2 separate regions of the Homo sapiens genome follow, and region 1 is linked to region 2. Evidence: promoter capture Hi-C in 16 types of primary human blood cells and fetal thymus (Javierre and others, 2016). All regions are on one chromosome and are shown on one strand. The core of a region is centred on a gene start or on the middle of the fragment in contact, and the rest is flanking DNA. Distances in the headings are between cores, read along the strand shown.

Region 1 (6,598 bases), core at 853-3,352, 320 kb after region 2:
TTTGCATTATATTTTGTGGCCAGTTCACCCTAGTGTATAGAAAGCTATGAAATGGGTACTAGTGTTTCTCGTTTACAGATGAAGGAGTAGAAATTAAGGGCACAGTGCCAGGTGAGACTCTAGTTGAGGACAGGGCTATTCAGAGGTGCGGCCGTGTCTGAACCTGCCTCAGTCATAACCACTCTCTTAGAAGGAAGCTGCCCGTGCTCTCCAAAGACAGTGTCTGGTCAGACCCAGCTTGGTGTCTGCTGCCTGGCTTGGTGCTCCTGGCTTGGTGTCTGCTGCCTGGACAGTTCCAGATTCAAGGGCAGCCAAACATTTCTGGGCAGCAAGCTCCCTGGCCTGATCAAGCTCTGGGCCATGGCTGTGCCCCGCAAACCCCAGAACCCAATAAAAGGAGTCCCCATTAGGTGGGCATGGCTGCAGGTGACTGTTGCACAGTAGGACTTTGGACCACTTATTTGAAAGCTGCTGTTCTTACTGTTCAGCATCAGAGAGAATTTGATGAACTCTATGGACTCTCAGACAAATGCCCCAAATGCTGTTGACACTTTCAGAGGATGTATGGACAACCCCAAAACACACCCAAGGATCTTGGGTTAAATTAATATTCCTGTGTTAAAACAATGGCCCAGACAGGGATTCCTCCAGGTGGGAGGTGCCCAGGGATGGGGTCACGTTCAGAGGACAGAAGTCCTTGTGTCTGTGTGACTTTGGATGGGTCACTTCCCTCTCTGAATCGTTATTTTCTCCATGAGAACAATATCTACCCAGTCTAGTTATGGTGTTGTTTGGGAATCGTCTGGTATCCTGTCTTGTGACAGTGCTTTGAAAACTGCAGTTAAGTAACACAAAGGTAAGAAATGACTCATGCCAGGAAAGGGAATAGCATGAGGCCCAGCTCTGATATGCAAAGGCCTCTCAGATTCTTAGAGAATATTATTGGCTCTCACACCACCAGCTGCTCCCAGTGAACTTGGCCTTCGCCCCCAGGAATGGCTGATAAAGGCCTTCACTGCTTTCCACTTCTGAGCTGATGGGACTGTTTTAGCTGACCCAGCTAAAACCATGATTAAGTGGCTGGATTTGGAAAAGAAGTGTTGGGGCTCATGGTTCACAGATACGTTTCTGGGTTGTTATAAAAATTAATAATTAGGCTGGGTGCGGTGGCTCACTCCTGTAATCCCAGCACTTTGGGAGGCCGAAGCAGGAGGACCACTTGAGGTCAGGAGCTCAAGACTAGCCTGGCCAACATGGCGAAACCCTGCCTCTACTAATAATACAAAAATTAGCCGGATGTGGTGGCTCATGCCTGTAATCTCAGCTACTCAGGAGGCTGAGACAGGAGAATCGCTTGAACCTGGGAGGTGGAGGTTGCAGTGAGCTGAGATTGTGCCACTGCACTCCAGTCTGGGTGACAGAGTGAAAATATGTCTCAAAAAACAAAATTAATAATTAATCCTCTCCTGCATGCTGGAGGGGAACTGCCAGCAGCCTCCGAGTTATGGAGAGCACTCCTGGCCACCAGGCTCCCCGTGAGTCCTGGCTCCGTGTGAGCCCAGGCCAGCCCTCCTCTCTACTGCCCTCCACTGGGTCCCCATGGTAAAATAAGGGGCTGCACTTGATGAAAGTGAATTTGCAACTGAAAAAATATGTAATAATAAAGCCAGATCCCTTCTAAGAGACTTTAAAGGTCTTCCAACTTGTCTTCTTCCTGCTCCCAGTAGATTATGTCCCCTGTCCTCATGCCCCAGCGTGAACTTTAGGCCCTGGACACATCAGCTTGCACACACATGTGTGTTTGTGTGGGGGTGGGTGGGTGTGCATGTGTGTCCTTGGGGGAAGCTGGGGGAAAGGGGCAAAAGAGAACCCTCACTGGGAACCTTTTTCTAAATACAAATGGCTGCCCCCTTCTCCCTGGGAAATATCTGAATGGGGTGAGGGATATACTGCTTTGGTCTTCCGACCATCCAGATCCCCATCTCCAGACTCTCCAGCCAGAGGGCAGGGCAGTAGGGGGACTGGCAGGACTATTTTGAACGCCTGGTTCTCAGAACCACCTCCCTGCAGTGCTCCTGTTCAGAGGTCAGAGGTGTGCAGCGTCCTTTCATCCTCTCCTTGGAGAGCAAGCCTGATGAGGCAGGGAATATCTTTCTGACTCCCCGGTTCCTGGCTCCATGGCAGGCATGCAACAGAAGCTCTCGGACAAATAAATGGGACCTTCCCCCATACTTTGCCTAAACCTTCTTATGTCCCTTCTCTGCTCCCTCTTTACCAATGTGGGTATCTCCTCTCCTCCCAACTTCTGCTCAAATTGTAGCTTCTGGGGATGCCTCCAGCTGAACCCCCAGGCCTCCCCAGATCTGTGGCCCCAGCCCTGTGTCCCTGCATCTTTGCTGATCCCAGCCAGAAGCTGCCAGGTATGCATTTTCATCAACAGTAGTGAGGACTATTTATTAATTTATTTATTTTTGAGACAGAGTCTTGCTCTGTCACTCAGGCTTGAGTGCAATGGCCTGAACTCGGCTCACTGCAACCTCTGCCTCCCAGGCTCAAGAGATTCTTGTGCCTCAGCCTCCCGAGTAGCTGGGATTACAGGCGTGTGCCACCACGCCCGGCTAATTTTTGTGTTTTTAGTAAAGACAGGGTTTCACCATGTTGGCCAGGCTGGTCTTGAATTCCAGACCTCAAGTGATTCATCCTCCTTGGCCTCCCAAAGTGCTGGGATTACAAGTGTGAGTCACCATGCCCAGCCAGTAAGGACTATTCGTTAAGCAGCATTATAGATCACCTGTGTATGTCTGCTAAAAAAAAAAAAAAAAAAAAAAGGGCACCCTCTCTACCCAGATGAGCAAAGGTATTTTTTCTGATACCTGTAACAAATCTAATATTGCCACAATTGCTACATGATTAGTGAGAGAAGCATTTGATAGGCTAATCAATTGATTGGTCTGGGGTAAATATTCAGTGAATCCAAAGTTCAACTCTAATGAGCCACTTCACTTCTCCTGGGCCCTCTTGGTAATGTGGTACCAGGAACTCTGGAAGTCCTCATGGCATTGCTCAAGGGAGTGGTGGGATGGGTCCCCAGCTGCTCTTTGCACAGCTCTCTGCTCTAGGTGACTGTCTGGTCCATGAGCTGGGCTGGCCCAGTCTGTCTCTGGCAATCCTGGGGACATCTGCTGTTGACATCCTTGGTGAGTGTAACCTCCAGCTTACACAACCCATTGGACACCTCCTCTGCTCTCAAAAACTCTGCTGACCCCCAAAGTATGGTTGTGACTCCCATTAAGCCCAAGACCCACGTAGACCCTATGCCCCCAGCCAGATCCTCATTGGAAACCCCCATGGGAACATACAAGAAAGTGGATCTCTTCCAGTTCCTCCCACATTACGTGGCATCAAGGGCTTTGGGAATGTCAAACCAAATACTCCCCTGTCCTCAGCAGAGCACCCTCCCCTTTCCCAACGCCCCCCCGCCGCCACCACCAGGCTAACGAAGTTCTAAATGGGGGTCAGGGCACAAAATACTCTGTGTTTGCCTTTTCTCTCAATCTATTCAACTGCTCACCCCACCCAACTCCCACCAATCCAGTCCTCTACCCTGGGACTTTAGCCTGCAGTAGGAAGATCAGCCCACGAGTGTGACCACCCAGGTCCCCAACCTCAGCCCATCTTCTTCCCAGTTTCCTGGGCCTGGAGGGGAGCTCTAATCCCTTTCAGTTTTAGCCTTGATATCCTTAACATCTTTGCCACTAGACAGTGGGCCACGGACGAGCTGCATCAGTATCCCCAGAGCTTATTAGAAATGTAGACTCTCAAGCCCCACCATGGACTTGCGGAACCAGGGCTTGTATGTTAACAAGGTGCCCGGGTGATTCACATGCACATTAAAGTCAGAGAAGCGGTGCTGGCTTGCAGCACATCCTGGCAGCGTGTTCTCCTTAGCTTATGTCAGACTCCTGGATCTGGTCCGCCAGGCCTGGTTCTTAATATGTTAGTGGAACTCAGCAAATTTAGGAAACCCTTCTCTCTCTTGTCAAAGTTTGACTTCTAGATGCTGCAGACTCAACTATCTTGCCTCCATGCCTTGGATGTCACTGGCTGCATAAGGACTTTGTCTTTCTCTTGACATTCTTGCTGTAACAATCCCAGTCCTCCTCAGTCCATTCTTCTTGAAAATGGCACTGGGGAAAGAGGCAAATATACAGAATGGAGAAAGAGAGAAACACATGAACATACTTGAAAACTACTCTCCCAGCTACAATAGCTTTTGCTGACTTGAGCTTCAAGTGATGCCAGCAGGCTACATGGAGGGTAGAGGTGAGAAGGGGTGGCACACACTTCACAGATGTCACAGAGGAGGACGCTCCTTCTACCACACTGTCCCTTGTCTAAGGACGCAAAGGAGAAAAGCCTTGCCTTAGCATCCAGAGTGGTTCAATATTACCTGAGCAAGTGAACTGCCTTTATTTTACAGGCCTCTAGGGCATAACTATCCATTTGCCCTTTTTTGTTTTGGCCACTAGGAAGCTTAGAGACAGATTTGTGGTCCAACAACGGTAAGTGTATGATCATGTCTAATTCTCATGCAGGACTGATCCCTGGCTTCACCCTAGCTTGTCTTCTTCCTCCTTGCTTTTAACATATGCATTTTATTATAACCATGTATTCGTATAAGCCACTTTAAATCTCTCCTGAAGCCAAGTGAAATAACTTTGTAAGTAGGTACTGTTCTAGGTCCTTGCCTATGGCGTATTCCCTCTTGATCTTTGCCATTGTTAACATCCCCATTGCACAGATGAGGACACTGAAGCGCAGAGAGGTGAAACAAGCAAGCCAGGCTCAGGGCAACGGTGAGTGTCCAAGCCAGGGTATCTCAGCTCTCTGTGTTCAGAGTTTGGGCCCCAGAAGGGACCACCTGGATCCTGTCTTGGCAGCAGGCAGGCCAACACGGCGCTGAGAGGGAGCTGAGGGGAGGTGTGGGTCAGATTTCTGGCAAGCCCTGAGGCTGTCAGTGAACCGCTGTGGGGTCCCCCCAGCATGTGCTTTGGGGCCACACCCTAATGGGGGTCTTCTTTATGTTATGACCACTCCTGCAGTTAATCAACCACAAGGTTGTTTTTTGTTGTTGCTGTTTTTTCTGTTTGTTTTTTTTTTTTTTTGAGACAGAGTTTCAGTCTGTTGGTCAAGCTGGAGTGCAGTGGCACAATCTTGGCTCACTGCAACCTCCATCTCCCAGGTTCAAGTGACTCTCCTGCCTCAGCCTCCCGAGTAGCTGGGATTACAGGCATGCACCACCACGCCTGGCTAATTTATGTATTTTTAGTAGACACGGCATTTCACCATGTTGGCCAGGCTGGTCTTGAACTCCTGGCCTCAAGTGATCCACCCGCCTCGGCCTCCCAAAGTGCTGGGATTACAGGCATGAGCCACCGAGCCTGGCCTTAAGCACGAGATTCTTAAGGATAGCACTGGGACCGGTGATTCTGTGACTGGAGCTGATTAACTGCTTTGTGGGAATAAGTAAGGGCTTCAAAGATGTGTGCCCATCTCGGCTGCCAGGCCCTGAGTTCTTGAGGTGGAAGCTGACTCTCCACCTTTCTGGCTGATCTAGGCAGGCTAGTTCCCTGAAGACTCAAGGTAAGCTGCCTTCTAGAATGAACTTGGGATGAAGGTAAATGATGACACAGGGCAGCTGTCTGAAAAAGAAAGGTTTATTTATCTAAACCAACAAGAAAGGATTCTTTTTAATTGGAAAAACAATTAAAGAATAGTGCATGTATTCAGATCCTATTTTTCCCAGTGTGTTTTTGTTGTTGTTGTTGTTGTTTTTGAGATGAGGTCTCACTCTGTCGCCAGGCTGGAATGCAGTGGCGCAATCATAGCTCACTGCAGGCTCCACCTCCCAGGCTCAGGCAATCCTTCCACTTCAGCCTCCTGAGTAGCTGGCACCACAGGCACACACCACCACGCCCAGCTAATTTTTTGCATTTTTGGGTTTCACCAGTTGCCTAAGCTGGTCTCGAACTTCTGAGCTCAAGTGATCTGCCCACCTCAGCCTCCCATAGTGCTGGGATTACAGGTGTGAGCCATTACACCCAGCCTACGTGTGTTTTAAATACACATACTCAGATGGATCCACTCAGACACACACACAGACCCCCATACACAGAGACACTCTATCCCCATCCCGCAACACACACACACACACACACACACACACACACAGAGTCTAGAAAGGACCACCAAACACCAAAGTGTTAATAGCTACTTCCGAAAGCAGAGATAGAAACTAGGCTAATGGGTGAGGAATGTTTACCTTTTAATTTTCACTATATATACTTTCCATATTGTTAGAACTTTTTACAACGATGTTGTCACTTCATGATTTAACTGTTTTGTTTTGTTTTGTTTTTTAATAGAGTGAATCATCTGTGAACACTTCCTGTGAACGTGTGACTATGATTATGGAACACTCTGTTGCATCAAGATGGCCAGAGATTGTCTCAGAGTCCAGGCAGTGGGAGGAGGGGGGATTTGTTTCCTGGCTGGGTGGTCGTAGGGCATCAAGGGATGAGCAGCTTTGGTTGTCTGG
Region 2 (6,839 bases), core at 1,720-4,219:
TTTGAAGGTTGGATTCTCTTCAATGTTAGATATAATGTTGAACTTAATGCTGAATATTTTCAAAACACTAAAAGTACTAAAATTTGTCTTTAAGTTGTTTTGTTTGAATTCACATCAGTCATTTATTTGAGGGGTAGGGTATAGTGGCTAGGAGTACCAGAACCAGACTTCCCAGAATTCAAATTCTGCCTCTCTCAAACTAAGAATTTTGTGATTCTGGGCAAATTGCTCAATAGATAAGATTTTCCATCTATAAAATGGAGTTGATTATTAAATGAGTTAATATAAAAAACACTGAGCACAGTACCTGGTATATAAAACGTAATAGGCCGGGCACAGAGGCTCATGCCTATAATCCCAGCACTTTGGTAGGCCGAGGTGGGTGGATCACTTGGGATCAGGAATCTGAGACCAGCCTGGCCAACATGGCGAAATTCCATCTCTACTAAAAATACAAAAATTAGCTAGGTGTGGTGGTGCACGCCTATAGTCCCAGCTACTCGGGAGGCTGAGGTGGGAGAATTGTTTAAACCCAGGACGTGGAGGTTGCAGTGAGCCAAGATCACGCCACTGCACTCTATCCTGGGTGACAGAGCGAGATTCCATCTAAAAAAAAAAAAAAGAAACCTTAATAAACGTTAGTTATCACTTGAAGGTATTTAATGTTTTTTTATATGTGCATTTATGTACATACAGGATTCAAATTCCGCTTTATGATCAACAGGGAATTGGGACTATGTTACTGACTTCTGACTAATACCCGTCTAAAATTCCTTTACCCTTTCCACTTAGACGCAGCCCTCGAGTTATGCGGCCCCCATTTCCCACCACAATAAAGATCCACCTCTCTATCCCAGGTTTTATTCCATCATATTTAAGGCTTGGATGTAATTTTTGGAACAATTGACTGCTTTATTTAGTTGGTGGGGAGAGGAGTAGGAGAGAGAAGCAAATTACAGTCAATGACAGGACCAGGGATTCTGAGCATACCTGCATGTATGCATACTAGACACTGATGTTCCAGCCAGTGAAAGGAGATATAACTTCTAAAAAACAGTATCAACTTTATTATGCTTGGAAGTAATGAGAAGAGAGGCAAGAAGCAGGCAATGGTAAGAGAAAGCGGGTGGGACGTAGTGGCTTGCACATTTAATCCCAGCACTTTGGGAGGTCGAGGTGGGAGGATCGCTTAAACCCAGGAGTTTGAGACCAGCCTGGGCAACATAGTAAGTCTCCATCTCTTCAAAAAAAAAAAAAAAAAAAAAGGAGCTGGGGGAGGTGGGCGTAGTGGTGTGTGCCTGTAGTCCCAGCTACTCTGGGGGCTGAAGCGGCAGAATTACTTGAGCCCAGGAGATCCAGCCTGCAGTGAGCTGTGATCATGCCCCTGCACTCCAGCCTGGGTGACAGAGTGAGAACCTCTCTCAAAAAATACACACCCACAAAAAGAGAGGGAAAGTATAGTGTATGGCAGAACAGGAAGGAGAACTTGGGTTCACTAAGCACCTACTCTGTGTTAGGCGTACAGGAGTGCCATCTCATTTAATTCTCATGAGAAGATTATGAGACAGATCTACAGTCCCAAAGCAACACCCACCAGTGCCTCTCCCCCACGGAGCGGTTCATCTAACTCACCAACCAAAAAAGGTTTGGATCTGGATTTCTGGCTCTTTGGAGAAATAAGAGATCAGGTAACAATAGGCTGGCACTGGGTGGTGGCTGCTCCACTAGATCCTCCACCTGCTCTTTAGTGCACCAGCGCCTCCCTCCTTTCTCCATGACCACAACCTCTGCCTCCCTCCTGTATGTTTCCTGCCGAGCTCCTGTGCACATCTGAGTTTTTGACTCCCAAGGTGTGTATTATTCTCCCCTTTTATTGACGAGGACGGTAACTGAAACTCAGAGCAGTTAAGTACTTTTCCCACGGTGGCCTAACTGAAAGTAAAGGATCTAGATAGAATTGGAATTTTGGTCCATTTCATTTATATAGAATGTATTGCCCTTGGAGAGAATATATTGTAAGAAAGAGCCCGTATCTAAGAGTGCGCAGGCCAAGCGCGGTGGCTCACGCCTGTTGGGAGGGCAAGGCAGGCGGATCACAAGGTCAAGAGATGAGACCAGCCTGACCAACATGGTGAAACCCCGTCTCTACTAAAAGTACAAAAATTAGCCCGGCGTGGTGGCACATGCTTGTAATCCCAGCTACTCGGGAGGCTGAGGCAGGAGAATTGCTTGAACCTGGGAGGCCAGGGTTGCAGTGAGCCGAGATCGCGTCACCGCACTCCAGCCTGGCGTGAGAGCGAGACTCCGTCTCAAAAAATAAAATAAAATAAAAAATACGTATAGAGAGAGAGAGAGGGAGAGAGACAGGCAGACAGCAGACCTGGATTCAAGTTCCAGCTGCAGAGCTTGCTGAGCGTGTCTAACCTTGGGTACGTCACTCCACGTTGCTGCTCTGGCCCTCAGACAGCTCATCTGTAAAATGGGGATGACCAGGCCTACTTCACCAGCTTGTTTTGAGGACCACAGGAGATGTTTGGGAAGCCAACCGGGGAGCTCTACAACTCTCAGAGATTGCTGGTGTTAGGCCAACAGCAAGAGGAGGGCTGGCAAATTTGTGCTACCCTGAAGGAAAGTCCAGGAAGGACTGATTTGAGCCAGATCTCAAGCAAGGCCTTGAGCAAATGGGTCAACACAGGAGAGGACGGGCTGAGCCTTGTTGTGCCTGACGGAAGAGCAAGACGGCCACAATTCAGACGCACGTGAGGGAAATCAGATGACTGGACTTGTAGATACTAACGGTTCTGAAGCGGGTAGGTTAGCTTTCCAACCGCCTGGATGACGGTCTCAGCCTCCTCCCGACCCCTTCCTGCGCGTCCGCTCTTCCCCTGCGCCCGCCCGCGCCCCTCCGCCCGCGCCCCGGCCCCGCCCCAGGCCTCGCCTCCGCTTCGCCGCCGCCGCCGGCCGCAGCCAGGAGCAGCAGCCGCGCCTGCAGACCGGCCTCGCGGAGCCCGCGCGCCGAGCCCCACGTGAGTCCGGCGGGTCGCCGCCCTGGGCACCCTCGCGACGGAAGGGCCGGGGTGGGGACACCGACGAGCGCTTTTCATCTCGTCCCAGTTACTTTGAAACCGAAAGCGCCTGCTGGCGTCCGGCCGGTCCCCGACCGGCGGGGAGGGCGCGAGGCGGCGGCTGGGCCGGGGGAGGCGGAGGGGCCCGGGCTTGCGGGAGACCGGCGGGGCAGGTGACCGCCGACGGCCCGGGGACAGCGGGAGCGGTGCGGAGCGGGTTTCTTAGCCGGGGAGAGGTGTGGCGAGGGCGGAGACTGGGGGTCCAAAGCTGGGGAGCTGGTCCAGAGGGCGGCTGTGGACCGGAGGGGCCAGGTTCCGTCGGGGTGCACTGGCGGGGAGGACTTTCAGGCACGTCCCGCACATCCGCACTGCAAACCAGGCCCTGGCCCCCTTCCGCACCCGAAGGCACCCTCTCCACCTTTGCAGGGCTTTCCAATCAAAGCAACTCCAGAATGAAACTTCAGGATTGCAAGGAATGGAAGCCTCTACCAGCTGTTCGTTTGCGCGTCTTCCTTTAGAAAGCAGCTACCCCCCTCCCCCAGAAGGCGAGCTCTAAGGAACCTTGACGCAAACCAAAGCTCCGAGAGGTGGAAGGAGTTGCCCAGAGGCACCCAGAGAATTCGCAGATTCTGAGTTCTCCGTACCAGATGGTCTCCACTTTGTTCCTGTTCTGCAGGGTCTTGGTGGTTCTGAGAATTTTCGGGGCCACGCTCTTGCTGCGGGTCCCACTGGGCCACTCTGGCTGGCCGACTTTCTCTGCTCATTCGGCCTCCTTCTGCTAAGTTTCCATATTTGGGTATTTCAGATTTACTTTCATGAGAACTCAGTTATCTCGCTGTGGCAGGCAGAGCTGCCTCAGGCGAGCATTGAGGTTGGTGAAACCAGGCGAGGCTCCCTGCCAGGGCTGCCCCTGCAGCCCCCACCCTCCATAGCCTTGGGCTCTGACCCACCTCCTGTGAGGATAGGCATCTGGTAACCAGTTTAATTCTGTAAATATTTATTGGGCAGGTGCTGTGTGAGAACTGGGCTGGGGCCAGTGGAATATGGTTATTTCCTCCAGAGATACTTGCATTTTAAAAGGGCTCTGGAAGACCTGAGATGCAAAGAAATTAGTTGAACCATTTCTGGAAATAGAACAGTTTTGGGTGTGTGCGAGATAATTTTAGGCAGCAAAAGGCTGGGCTAGGAACTCTCAAATCCCAGTGCAGCTGCTCTGCCTTATGTACTCACAAAGCTGAAAACAGGGGTGTTAATGTAATTGATGGTTTGGGTGGAAACACTTCCATCCCTAACTCTAATTTGAACTAGAAAGACAGAAATTGCTGCAGGAACGATGGATGTAAGATGGAAGTGGAAAACGCCTAGCTTCTGTAAAGGTTTTTGATTTTGTTACAGTTACTGTTTTTGTTGTAACTCTATGGAATGGATCACCTCTCAGATCCCTGGCTCCTGGACAGAGGCAGGAGAAAGTGTCTGAGCCAGCATCTGGAACATGGGAAGTGATGGAGAAGGCGACTTCTCCCACGGCCTCTGGGCTGAGAGGCCTGTTGTGACGGGCAGGGTAGGATGGTGGTATTTCCCTCTGTCAGCAGCAAGCCCGCTGGACTTGGGTAGTAGGGCGATGGAAAGAGTGTGGAAAAGAGCTGCCGTCCACTGAACGTCCTGACGATAGGGACTGGGATGTTTCAGTGGGGATGATTTGCACAGTCGGGGAGCTAGATGCCTCAGAGTCAGTCTTGTTAGGCTTGCAGTGGGAAAGGCACCTCAGTACTTAGACAAACCTCCTCTGATTAGCTCAGCTTTACTGGGGAGGACCTTGAAGGAAAAATAATTATTTGTTTGTAAAGCTCGTTCCTTTGCAAAGCATTTTCTCTTTGTTCTTGTCGTTTTGTTCTCATTTCGTCCTCCATGACGCCCTCATGAGTTAGAGCAGGCTTATTCTCTACATCTCTCAGATTGTGAGGGTGAAGCACTGAGGCGGTAAATAGCTCCCTGAGCTCCACTGCTGGACCAGGATCAGAGCATTGAGGTGTCTTGTTCCCCTGCTCCAGGCCCCTCACCCTGGCTTCTCAGAGAGCCATATCTGCCCACCTCTTCCTCCGTCTGAGGGGTCAGCAAGGGGACCCAGATTCTGATAATGCCTCTGTGGTCTGTCCCCAGCAACATGGAGCAAGTTCTGCTGGAGACTCTGGCCTAACCACCACAAGAACAGACATCCACTCTGTTAGCTCTGCCTAGCCAGGCAAACTCCGGGCAAGACCCTTGTCTGTTTTCATGTGTGTCTTGGAACCTGGCATAGAGTAGGCCTAAACAGATGTTTGCTGAATCGAATTGAATTCATTCAGGGTACGTCTCCCTTGGGGTCTGAGCTGCCAGGAACAAGTGCTGGGTAGGCTTGGCAGAGAGAGGTTGAGCTCCCAGCAGGACTTGCTTAAATCCAGAAATTAGAATAACACTGTACAGCTTACGAGAAGCCCATCTCATCTGATTAACTTCTCACTACCTCCTCAGGAGAAGGGAGAGGCACATGCTATTCCTTCCACTTTACCTGGTTGCAAGCTGAGGCTCAGAAGTGATTTGAAAGACCTCACAGCATGTAGGGATGGGGCAGGACCTAATCCCAAGTCTTCTTTCTCCAATTCCTGTGTTTTTCCCATAGTATCTTAATTAAAGGAAGCCAGGATTCTGGGCAGGAGGAGGATGAGAGAACCAGCGAGACAGTCATCAAAAGCTGCCTGACACCTTTGTCACTGATCAGGGGTCAGTGTCTGACTCAGTCTCTGAAGAGCTTTTTTCTGCCCAGGTTGTGGCTTTTTCTGGGATTCTGGATAGGAGTTCTAGCTCCAGCAGAGGTGTAGCAAGTGAGTATCTGTGTGTGTTGGGGCAGAGGAGAACACGCTGCAGGGCAGAGGGAGTCCTCAGAGCTGGCAGGCCTCTGCTGCTGCTGCCGCTGCCACCACCCAGGAGTGGGCCAGCATGAATTTGTTGCCTTGCCCAGAGGAAAGCTTTATTTGAAGGATCACTCAGCAGCCTTGACCCATATGGCCTCCAGCAAGTCCTATCTTGTGAGAAAGTGGCTTGGAGGACCAGGCAGGAGATAAAAGTGAAAGTACTCATTAGTCCTGACAGAGGAACTCAGTCTGTTTACAGTGACAGTGGTGAGCACATTTTGCATATTTGTACCTGGAGGCAGGTGGTGGTGCATGCTTGGATCGTGCTGTAGCAAAAGCAGTATACATGCAAATGGTCTGTACACTGTGCAGTATCCGTGTGATGTGCAGGTCTTAGAGACCCAGTATTAAGTGACAGAGCCCAGTGAGTGCCCTCCCAGGATATCTCACTTACTTTCAGCAGAGCCCCATGTCTCATTTCTTGACACCACAGGCTCCATCAACTTCCCTCCTTACCAATTCAGAACATTCCTGAATTTTTTTCCATGGCTTTTTTTTTTTTTCTCTCAAGGAGAAAGTGCTCTCCTCCAGAACAAGGCGAGAGTACCTTTTCCACGTACACTCCCAAGTCAGCTCTCTCCTCCTCCCTCTGAGGCAGGTTCCCTCCCTGCCTCCCTCCCACAGACTTCTTCCCTCCCCCACAAGCTGAGTTTTCTGTTAGTAAGAAGACTCCATGTTTCCCCAGTCCCTCTTCTCTTTCTTTCACTGACAAGCTTCTGTAAAGAGTGGACAGCTCTTGCACTCGCTCCTCACTCGGCACCGTGCACCTGCTGCGCTGCTCTGATTGTCCTGTGTAGGTTTCCAGGACCTGGTACTCCTCAGT

Evidence for each region. The method cuts DNA at HindIII sites, captures the fragments that hold promoters and counts their contacts. A CHiCAGO score of 5 or more calls a contact.
Region 1: a fragment that was not itself captured here is called in contact with the fragment with the promoter of TRAF5 in region 2 in 1 of 17 cell types (M2 macrophages); the score reaches 6.4 in M2 macrophages.

The regions. Positions count from the first base shown.
Region 1 is chr1:211,647,619-211,654,216 of GRCh38, forward strand. NTRAS (non-coding transcript regulating alternative splicing) reads left to right here. Exons shown (of 3, transcript NR_131925.1): 3 at 6,426-6,598. Among named protein-coding and RNA genes, the nearest start is that of NTRAS, 11 kb to the left of the region's middle. RefSeq lists an enhancer at 1,389-1,683. The HindIII fragment of the contact is 4,857 bases long and covers 1-4,531 here.
Region 2 is chr1:211,323,864-211,330,702 of GRCh38, forward strand. TRAF5 (TNF receptor associated factor 5) reads left to right here and starts at 2,970. Exons shown (of 11, transcript NM_001033910.3): 1 at 2,970-3,026. RefSeq lists enhancers at 1,674-2,175, 2,445-2,834, 6,398-6,457 and a silencer at 2,895-3,264. The HindIII fragment of the contact is 10,339 bases long and covers 1-6,068 here.